3 separate regions of the Homo sapiens genome follow, and all the other regions are linked to region 3. The links are contacts of gene promoters, found by promoter capture Hi-C in blood cells and fetal thymus (Javierre and others, 2016). All regions are on one chromosome and are shown on one strand. Each heading gives the region's core, a stretch centred on a gene start or on the middle of the fragment in contact. The rest is flanking DNA. Distances are from core to core; before and after follow the strand shown.

The links. Contacts are between HindIII fragments. The CHiCAGO score rates a contact against its expected background, and 5 or more counts as called.
Region 1: a fragment that was not itself captured here is called in contact with the fragment with the promoter of DNAJC27 in region 3 in 3 of 17 cell types (M1 macrophages, M0 macrophages and endothelial precursors); the score reaches 5.8 in M1 macrophages.
Region 2: a fragment that was not itself captured here is called in contact with the fragment with the promoter of DNAJC27 in region 3 in 1 of 17 cell types (M1 macrophages); the score reaches 5.1 in M1 macrophages.

What each region holds. Positions count from the first base shown.
Region 1 is chr2:25,151,505-25,154,760 of GRCh38, forward strand. It overlaps EFR3B (EFR3 homolog B), which reads left to right. Exons shown (of 23, transcript NM_014971.2): 21 at 410-516; 22 at 2,208-2,257; 23 at 2,731-3,256. The coding sequence ends at 2,836. Among named protein-coding and RNA genes, the nearest start is that of POMC, 15 kb to the right of the region's middle. The HindIII fragment of the contact is 1,351 bases long and covers 1,200-2,550 here.
Region 2 is chr2:25,174,664-25,177,992 of GRCh38, forward strand. No RefSeq gene overlaps it. Among named protein-coding and RNA genes, the nearest start is that of POMC, 7.7 kb to the left of the region's middle. RefSeq lists an enhancer at 2,268-3,329. The HindIII fragment of the contact is 4,865 bases long and covers 1-3,329 here.
Region 3 is chr2:24,970,371-24,973,598 of GRCh38, forward strand. DNAJC27 (DnaJ heat shock protein family (Hsp40) member C27) reads right to left here and starts at 1,585. Exons shown (of 7, transcript NM_016544.3): 1 at 1,448-1,585. The coding sequence starts at 1,534. DNAJC27-AS1 (DNAJC27 antisense RNA 1) reads left to right here and starts at 1,742. Exons shown (of 3, transcript NR_034113.1): 1 at 1,742-1,862. RefSeq lists enhancers at 996-1,125, 1,079-1,597, 1,136-1,245, 1,506-1,615, 1,598-2,116 and 2 more and a silencer at 1,296-1,375. The HindIII fragment of the contact is 9,578 bases long and covers 1-2,785 here.

The DNA of each region.
Region 1 (3,256 bases), core at 625-3,124, 180 kb after region 3:
CTCGGCCTCCCAAAATGCTGGGATTACAAGTGTGAGCCACCGTGCCCAGCCTCAATGTCCCTTTTCAAAATACCCACAGAGTACTCAAAGGACCAACTGTTCAGGACCTTCAATTTAAGAGTCCCGGTGGGAGAGCAGCTACTTGGGGCTGTAAGAGCCCCGCTGAAAGGGCCTCCCACATAGTTCTCAAATTCTTACATGAGGAAGAAGGCTGAGCCCTCAGGCAGAATCAGGAAGAGGTCCCACCTTCCAGGGCCAAGTGAGGGCACCGCACCTCCACGCCACTGTCCCCTACTCTTCAGAAGAGGGGAGAGCCCAAGCAATGCTCATGGACAGTGCTCCCTGGAGGAGTCCCTCCCTTCACCTCAGTGAGCAGGGCCTGGCACTAACCCAGCTCTCTGTGTCGAAGTGGACAGCGTAGCAGTGGAGGAGCAGGAGCGTGAGCGGCGGCGGCAGGTGGTGGAGAAGTTCCAGAAGGCACCCTTCGAGGAGATTGCTGCACACTGCGGGGCCCGGGTAAGTGAAGCATGACATGGGCGAGTCCCTGGGAGCCAAGTCAAGACTGAATTTGGGTCCAGGACAGGATTAAGTTCCTAGGAGATCTTGGCTCTTTGACCACCAACCTCCCCCACCCCCACCCTGCCAGACATCAGGGCTTGTATTCCAATGCAGGGAGCTCCGCTGTTGCCCTGCCAGGCTTTCCCCAACACCCTGGCGCTGCACTGCTCCCCTATGAACCAAAAGACTTGGGTGTTTGTCTTGGGTCTCTCTGAGACCTCACACTTCTCACATAAGGAAGAAGTCCTGAGCTGAGGCACCTGTCTGGCAGTCAGATCATGCTCACTGTGGTCCTGACAGCAGGCACGTGAACAGCACTCACTGCGGATGACAGCTTCTTCTATTGATGAGCCGCTTTCATTCTCATGATAACTCCATGAAGTTGGTGCCATTATGATCCCCATGTTACAGAGTGATGGGGGAGGGGTGTGTGGCAAAGGAAGATGGTCAACGTTGGCAGCAGGACCCTCTTCCAACCAGGGTACCTTGGCAGGGGGATGGAACAGCCAGGCCTTGGCAAAGAGATCAGAGAGAGAGGCAGCTGGACATGTAGAAATGAGGAGCCATGCCTAGACTGGAGGGAGGAGCTCAGACAATCTTGAAATTGATTCTATGCCGGGATTTATTAGCCCCGAATGTCAAGCTTAGTAACAATGAAACATAACTGTAAACATTCAAAATCTACAAATAACCTATTCTCCTAACAAAATATAATATGTATAAATATTTTATATATAATATTCATATAGAAGTGTGTGTGTGTGTGTGTGTGTGTGTGTGTATATAAAACACATATAGATTTTCCTGGGCCTGTATTGTTCTAACCTCTCATCCCACTTTGAGAGGGATGCCCATGTTATGAGCTAGGAATCAGGGCCCAGTCACGGAACACGTGCAGTCCCACTCTCTGCATTCATTAACCTCATTAGAGCCAGAAGTAATCAGAGATCATCTCTAAGCCACCAGTTTTGCACAGCTGCTCCTTGCAAGTTAGAAAAGAGCTGGCACAGGCTGGGCACAGTGGCTCATGCCTGTACTCCCAGCACTTTGGGAGGCTGAGGCAGGCAGATCACCTGAGGTCAGGAGTTCGAGACCAGCCTGGCCAACATAGCAAAACTCCATCTCTACTAAAAATACAAAAATTAGCCGGGCATGGTGGCAGGCACCTGTAATCCCAGCTACTCAGGAGGCTGAGTTGGGAGACTTACTTGAACCCAGGAGGTAGAGGTTGCAGTGAGCTGAGGTCATGCCACCGCACTCCAGCCTGGGTAACAGAGCAAGACTCCTTCTCAATTAAAAAAAAGAAAAGAAAAGAGCCGGCACTAGTGCAGTCTCCCGACTCCATGCCCAGCAGCCCCTACTGCCCCATCTTAAGGAAAAGGACCTTCCAGAACTGCCTGCTGACGTCCTCCCTGGTGATTCTGAGCCTCTGTCCTGTCCCCAGCCAGCCTTCAGTAGGTGGCTTTCCCTGATCCGAATCTGCAGTCAGGGTCCAGTGGATGAGTGCTGGAGCGTGTTCACCTCTGCCTGCCTTCCTAAGGCTGTGGCTGCCCTGTACCTCCAGCGTATACTCTGGACACCCTGAGCCAGCTGGCAGAGGTTCTGGACCCCCCACCCCTGCCAGCTCACTTCCGTGTGTTTGTGTCTAGGCATCGCTGCTCCAGAGCAAACTCAATCAGATCTTTGAAATCACCATCCGGTAAGTGACAACCCTGGGCAGGGGACCCTGACCTCCGTGGCCCAGTATTGGGGTTCCTCATCCTGAGTCCTCTCACCCCTGTCTTCTCTTCTCTCCTCCCCACCTCCTTCTACCACTGTAATCTCTATCCCCTGGGCTGGAGTCAGCCACCAACTCTAACCCTCCCTAGACAAGGAAATAGAGACCAGAGAGGGAAAGAGCCTGCCTCAATGAAACCTGGAAAGACGCAAGAGTCCTAGTGTTCCGGGCTGGCACTTTCTAAAGCAGCAGTGTCACTGCGGAGCCTGCAGGGAAGCTTGACTCCAAGCTGTAGATTCTAGTAGAACGTGGAATCCTGGGAACCTGTGGAATGAAGGGGTCTCTGGTGCCTGTGCAAAAAGAAACCCAAGTCACCTACTCTGTTTGGTTGCACAAGGGTGGGATCCTAAAATTCTCTTTTCATGCCTTTCTCCCCATGTGTTCCTGCCCCCTAGGCCCCCACCAAGCCCATCAGGAACCATCACTGCAGCCTACGGTCAGCCGCAGAACCACTCCATCCCCGTCTATGAAATGAAGTTTCCCGATCTGTGTGTATACTGAATTCCAAGAGCCTGAGCTCCTCAAGGAGATGGGGTCTGAGGAGGGGCTCACCTCACGCCCACCCCGACCACATGGAGATCTGGCTGTGATCTCTGAGAAAACATCACCTTAGATGGCAGCGCCTCCCAGGCTAAGCCAAGGTGGAGACTCTCTGGTCCTTCTTGGCCCTCCTACCTCCTCCTCGTCTTCCCTGAGGGAGGTCTCACCAATCAGCATCTCACCTGTGCCCTCTTTGTCTTCTCTTGTGTCAGCCAGGGGCAGAGAATCATGGGGTGTCTCTCAGGAGAAGCCGGGGGGAGGGGGCTGAGAAGCTCCTACTTGGTGTTTTGAGTGAAGGGCATGTCCTCCCCAGAGGACGGAGCTGGATGGAGACTTGGTTGGTGAGAGGAAGCTAAGGACTCTACTCCCCTGGGGAAGGAA
Region 2 (3,329 bases), core at 632-3,131, 200 kb after region 3:
CGATGCACCTGCACCTGGCTGCGGGCGTGCCAGGTGGCTGTAGACGTAGGGCTGGGGCTGCTCTCATCATCTCAGCTTTTCACCTTTGAGGTTTTAATTGGAAAAGAGATGTCACCAGGGTGTGAGTGCGTTACAAGGGCAGGTGCAGGGGAGGCTGATGACTGAGAGGACAGAAACAAGGACAGGGTGGCAGAGCCCAACATGGGGCAGGGGATAAGGAGGTACAAGGAGGGTGGCCTCGTTGTCAGCCTCCAGGCATTGGGACTGGCAATGGGGGACATTACCCTGGGAGAAGAGAAGACTTAGGGATGAAGCTGCCTCATGTCTGTGGGGGACTTTGCTGGAATAAGCACCAATTCATGCCTTAAGGGTCTGAACGAGGAGCCCCAGCTCCACCTTGGCACGCCCTTCTTCATTCTCTCTCCATAGTCTCCATGGACAAGCTGGGGGCAGCTGCCATCCCTGTCTCATGGAATAACAATTGTCCCTTCTCGGAACTCCTTAGGCTCAGCCAGGGCCTCTTCATTCCTGCTGTTGTTTGGTCTAGAGGGGCCCTTGGGCTGCTCAGCTGGTGCCGGTTGCCTCTAAGGGCACAGCTCCCATAATCAGTGCCTGGTAGAGAGTTGGTGCTTGAAAAATATTTGTACAGCAAGGGTAGGAGGGGATGAATGAGGAAGGGAGACCCTCTCCCTCTTAACCCTCAGTTTGCAGAAACTCATGATTCTCCAAAACCCTCTTTGTCAGAGGCGTTTGAACCAGAGCAACTCCATCTTGAATAGGGACTGGGTAAAATGAGGCTGAGACCTACTGGGCTGCATTCCCAGATGGTTAGGCATTCTAAGTCATTGGATGAGATAGGAGGTCGGCACAAGATACAGGTTATAAAGACCTTGCTGATAAAACAGTTTGCAGTAAAGAAGCCGGCCAAAACCCACCAAAACAAAGATGGCCACTGAGAGAGTGACCTCTGGTCCTCACTGCTACACTCCCACCAGCGCCATGACAGTTTACAGATGCCATGGCAATGTCAGGAAGTCACCCTATATGGTCTAAAAGGGGAAACATAAATAATCCACCCCTTGTTTAGCATACCATCAAGAAATAACCATAAAAATAGTTAACCAGGCCAGGCGTGGTGGCTCAAGCCTGTAATCCCAGCACTTTGGGAGGTCGTGGCAGGTGGATCACGAGGTCAGGAGTTCAAGACCAGCCTGTCCAAGATGGTGAAACTCTGTCTCTACTAAAAATACAAAAATTAGCCGGGCGTGGTGGCAGACGCCTGTAATCCCAGCTACTTGGGAGGCTGAGGTAGAGAATTGCTTGAGCCTGGGAGACGGAGGTTGCAGTGAGCTGAGATCACGCCACTGCACTCCAGCCTGGGCAACAGAGTAAGACTCTGTCTCAGAAAAAAAAAAAAAAAGTTAACCAGCAGCCCTCCAGGTCGCTCTGCCTATGGAGTAGCCATTCTTTCATTCCTTTACTTTCCTAATAAATAAACTTGCTTTCACTTTAATCTATGGACTTGCCCAGAATTCTTTTTTGCGTGAAATCCAAGGACCCTCTTTTGGGGTCCGGATTGGGATTCCTTTCCAGTAACATCTCCGTACTCCCTCTGTAGGACACATGAACCTGAAACAGGGAAGTGCCTCCTCTTCATTGTGTCTGAATGAGAAATAGCCCAGTATCTTCCCCTTTATGTGGGCATTCAAGAATCGTGAGCACTTTCAAGAAATCCTAACTACCGCTAAAATTGCACTGGGGCTCAGAAAATTATACCCCAAAATATGGAACTAAAGAAGCAGCTTCAGTTCCTTTGAAGAACCTTCAAAATCTCGCCCTGACCTTCCCCTCACTCCCTGTCTCTCTGATTTTTTCCAAAACACCAGAAGGTACTGTCTTTGGCATTTCCATATCTGACTAAGGAAACTTCTTTCTAAAAGAAATACAATTGCCTGAAGCCTCCCTTCATAGGAATCTCATCAAATAACCAGGAAAGAAAGATTAACCACCTGAGAAGAGACGGATCATCACCGCCTCCAGACAGACTTTTCTTGCATTTTTCTGAGGGCAACTCCAAGAGATAGCCTAGGGGGGTTACCTGCATAATAAGACAGGCTGCGTTCACAATGACTTTCTGCTTCTCACCTTCACACCACCTACCCAAAGAACAGAGAAGAACTTTGTCCCAGGCCATTGTTCCTCGGGCGCATTCACTTTCCCAGAAAATCATTTACTCCTATGCCCCTCATTTTCCCTTCCCCTATCAAGAAATATCTGCAGGCATCTGGACCTCATTGAGTTACTGGGTAATCATTCTCCCACCATTCTGCTATGCTATACACATGAAATTAATTTGTATGTCTTGTTCCCCTATTAATCTGTCTATTAGCAGTTCATTTTCAACAAAACTTCAGAGGGCAGAGTGAAGGAAGGAAATTTTCTCTTGGCACCCACAATTGTCAATAGAAACCCTAATTAAGCATCCCTCTGAGGGGAGCCTGATGTGGTTTGCAGGGCAGACAGGGAGCTGCCTCCAGAAAAGGGCCTGAAGCCTGAAGCACTGCAGAGGAGAGGGTTACTGGTGCCCCAGATGGCCCTACAATTCAGGCGGATCCCACTGCCCCGCTTCACCCCTGCAACACGCCCTCCCCAGTCTCAGCCTTTTCATTGAGCTTCTCTCATGCAGCACTGCAGCTGGGCTACTTCACCAGCCTTCGGTTTGACCTCAAGGGCAAAGAGGAATCAATTTGTGCAGAGAACTGGAATGAAAGAGATTTCAATTGACCTTTGAATGGGGTTTTAATTTGCTTTATTCCAGCCAAAGGGACCTCGTGAAGAGACCCTTGAGACTGCTTTTATCCACTAATGCGCGCATTAGTGCAGCAGCCTGGGCCAAGGTCTGCATGGTCTGGGTGCCGCAGAGCACAGTGGGGAGGGCCAGAGTCCATGCCCCTCCCTAGAGCAGGTTGTCAGCACCCTCAGGGTCCAAAGCAGAGTCAAGAGTGGAGGAAGGGCCTAGGTAATATGGTGGAACCCCATTTCTACAAATATATATATATATATACACGTATATACACACACATACAAAAATTAGCCGGGCATGGTGGCACACGCCTGTAGTCCCAGCTCCTTAGGAGGCTGAGGTGGGAGGATCACTTGAACCTGGGAGGTGGAGGCTGCAGTGAGCCATGATCATGCCACTGCACTTCAGCCTGGGCAACAGAGCCAAACCCTGCCTCAGAAAAAAAAAAAAATAGAGTGGAGGAAGAAGCAGTGGGAGGGGGTGAGGTGACCTGGGTTCTAGCCCCAGCTCTGTGGCCAGCAGACAC
Region 3 (3,228 bases), core at 335-2,834:
AATAAAACTAGAAAAATGTTAAGTAGATGTGGTGACACTGGGCATTCTGAGCTGCTTCTAATGTTGTATCATTAGGCACAGTAAAATTACTTTTTTTTTTTTTTTTTTTTTTGAGACGGCGTCTCACTCTGCCGCCCAGGCTGGAGTGCAATGGCGTGATCTCGGCTCACTGCAGCCTCTGCCTCCCCGGCTTAAGCGATTCTCCCGCCTCGGCCTCCCAAGTAGCTGGGATTAAAGGCGTGCACCACCATGCCTGGCTAATTTTGCATTTTTAGTAGAGACAGGATTTCACTATGCTGGTCTTGAACTCCTGACCTCAAGTGATCCGCCCGCCTCGTCCTCCCAAAGTGCTGATGTATTACAGGCCTGAGCTAGCGTGCCCAGTCCCTAGAAAAAAAAAAACACCTCGTACACAGCTGACGTTCAAAAAAATGTTGACTTTCAGTGAATACTATGCTAGCACATACACACAAAAGTAGTACGGGATCATGCTACACAGAAATAAAAAACACTAAGTAAACATTTACTGAGCATCTCCTGGGTGCCAGGCACTGGACTAGGCACTGCCTTAACAGCTCTTTCGGAGTTGATTTTGAACGCATACAACGACGGAAAGAGCACCGCAGTGGGAATGTGAAGACTTAGGTTCTAATCTTTCCTCGGTCACTGATTTGATGACCTTGGGAAGTTCTTAACCAACAGATTCCACTTGCCCAAAAGGAAAGAATTTGAGTGAAGAGGAGGCCGTCTTGGAATTCATAAGGGAAAAGGCCTCAGGTTACCTCTGGCCTTCCCTCCCCACGTACTAAAGGAGAGTTTATAGCTGATGAACCACAGATGGGGCAGAGAGAAGGGCGGTGGAACTAACAGATATGGGGACACCACCAAAAATAAAACACAACGCAAAACAAAACAGCGCGGACCCCGGCCATCCCTTGCACCTCCCCTGTGAAACACGTCAACGTCAGTTACGCTCTCTCGTGACGGGAATGCAGAATCTGGGCTGCCGGGCACCATTTCGCGAACCCCAAATTCTCACACGCACCCCATAACGTTCCGCCGGCTCCCAGGCCCGGCTGGGGGAACTAAACTTTCATCCTCCATCTCCCGGTCCCGGACGGCCCCCTAGAACGCGGGCAAGGTATCTAGGCCGACGGCCCCTCATGGGGACCCAGGCCTTCTTACTCTTTTGGGGGTACATTCAAGGCTTAGAGGCCACCCCAGACACCATCTCCGGAAGAGTGACGTCGGAGGACGAGGGGGCAACGGAAAGGTCAAAAAGGTCGGGGAGTTTCGTTCGCGGAGCCGCACCCCTCGGCTGAGACCCGGGCCTGCTCGGGGGCGGAGAGGAGGCCGGGCCCCAGGCTGTTGAGTGGCCGCCCTTCCAGCCAATGGACACGTCGCCCCGCCACGCTGGGGCCCGCCCCTCCCGGCTCGCTGTACTCACTTTCCCCACTTCGGCGTTGCCCATGGAGATGACTTTGATGCGGAGAGACCTGCCGGGCTCCTTCCGCTTCGGCATGTTGGCCTCCATGGCCCTGGCTCTCTCGGGGCCACCCGCCTCGGTCTCTTCTTGTGCACCGCTGGCCCGTCCCTCAGGCCTCCTCGTCCAATGGCGGAGCCGCTGCTCTCGTCACCGCCTCGCCTCCGCTGCTCGCCATCCCCGCCGCTGCCTGGCAGCAGGCGCGGGCGGTTGGGAGCGTGGGGAGCCGGGGGAGGGAGACGGGAGTCTCGCGATGCTAGCGCGGGGCTGCTGACGTCATCTGCAGGCCCTGGAGACGCGACTGCAGTTACCGAGTTTCTAAGGCCTCGTCCCCTGACGGGAAGGCGGCGTTGGGGGGCGGCTGGGTTTACCCTTCGAGGTGAGCGCGTCCTTGTTTTCAGGGACGCCCGGACGGGAGGCGTTTGTTGCTTTCGCAGCCGAGTGGTGGAAATGTATTGGCTCTTCAGGGCGGGTCTGGTAGTGTCTCGTCCGTTTGGGAGTGTTTTTTTTTTTTTCTGGATTCTTTTTCGGTTCCATGGGCCGGGCTGCTGCTCCTCTTCCCCCTCCAATATTTTGTTCCCCTTGCTCGAGATCCCCGAGAGGCAGACCCCAAAGCCAGGAAAGTGGGGAGGTCGGAACCCTGGTTCTGGAAGAGGGCCTTGGGCAAGGCGTGAAGCGATTCTGAATCTGGTTCCTATTGTTTTTTATTTTAAATGGAGTTGTCTATTTGGAGTCAAGGCAAGAGTGTTTAGTCTTGGCCCTCCTATTACAGATCTCTGATGGATTTGTTGACTCCTCTGTGGGAGAAAGGCTTGGTCTACTGCAGGTGTTAACGCTAAGCCAGGCTGGAGCTGTGGACGTCAGTTTCCTCAGCTCCCCGCTGTTCGCTTCGAACGTGACCTCGACGTCTGCTCTCCCCTTCCCTTTAGCTGACAATGTGACAGTGCTTGAATAAAAGTCAGTCTGACAGGAACGGTAATTTTTTTTCAGTGAATATCTTCAGTTACAGAAGATAAATAGAACTTGACAATGATTATTTATAGTGCCCTGAAAAAAAATGGCTGCCAATTTCCCTGTATATTACAAAGACAAAAGTAGCATTGCTTCTTTTCTCACCTAACTTTAAACATCTTAAGGGAAGTGCATTACAGGAAGGCAATGAGCAAAGGCTCAACATTTCACAGTAAAGTCAGATTTTCCACATTTTAATTTTAAAATGTGTTTTTTAAACATTAAGTTTTTTTTAAGACAAGTTTATTCTGGATTGTTTTGATAATCAAATAATATAACTTAATTCACTGAAGCTTCTAAAATTATTTACAAATATGAAATATAAGTCCTGGTTAGAATTTGGATAGTTTTAAAGCTTAAAAGAATCCACATGCTAACTTCTCAGTATGATTTAATAAATCAAATTACTAAACATGTAATTTCTTCGACAGTTCACCTTTGGCCCTGTAATAGGGTAACTGGTATTGTGGAAGAATAATTATAAAATGTCAAATCTTCAGCTGTTATGATTGATTAAGTATGGTGCTGTTGAGACTAAGCAGTAAAACATGCCACAGATTTAAATTGATTACTATTTTTTTCATATTGATGGGGTTTTTTTTGTTTTTGTTTTTGTTTTTGAGACAGAGTTTCCCTCTTGTTGCCCAGGCTAGAGTGCAGTGGCACAATCTCTGCTCACTGCAACCCCTGTGTCCCGGGTTCAAGCAATTCACCTGCCTCAGCCACCCGAGTAG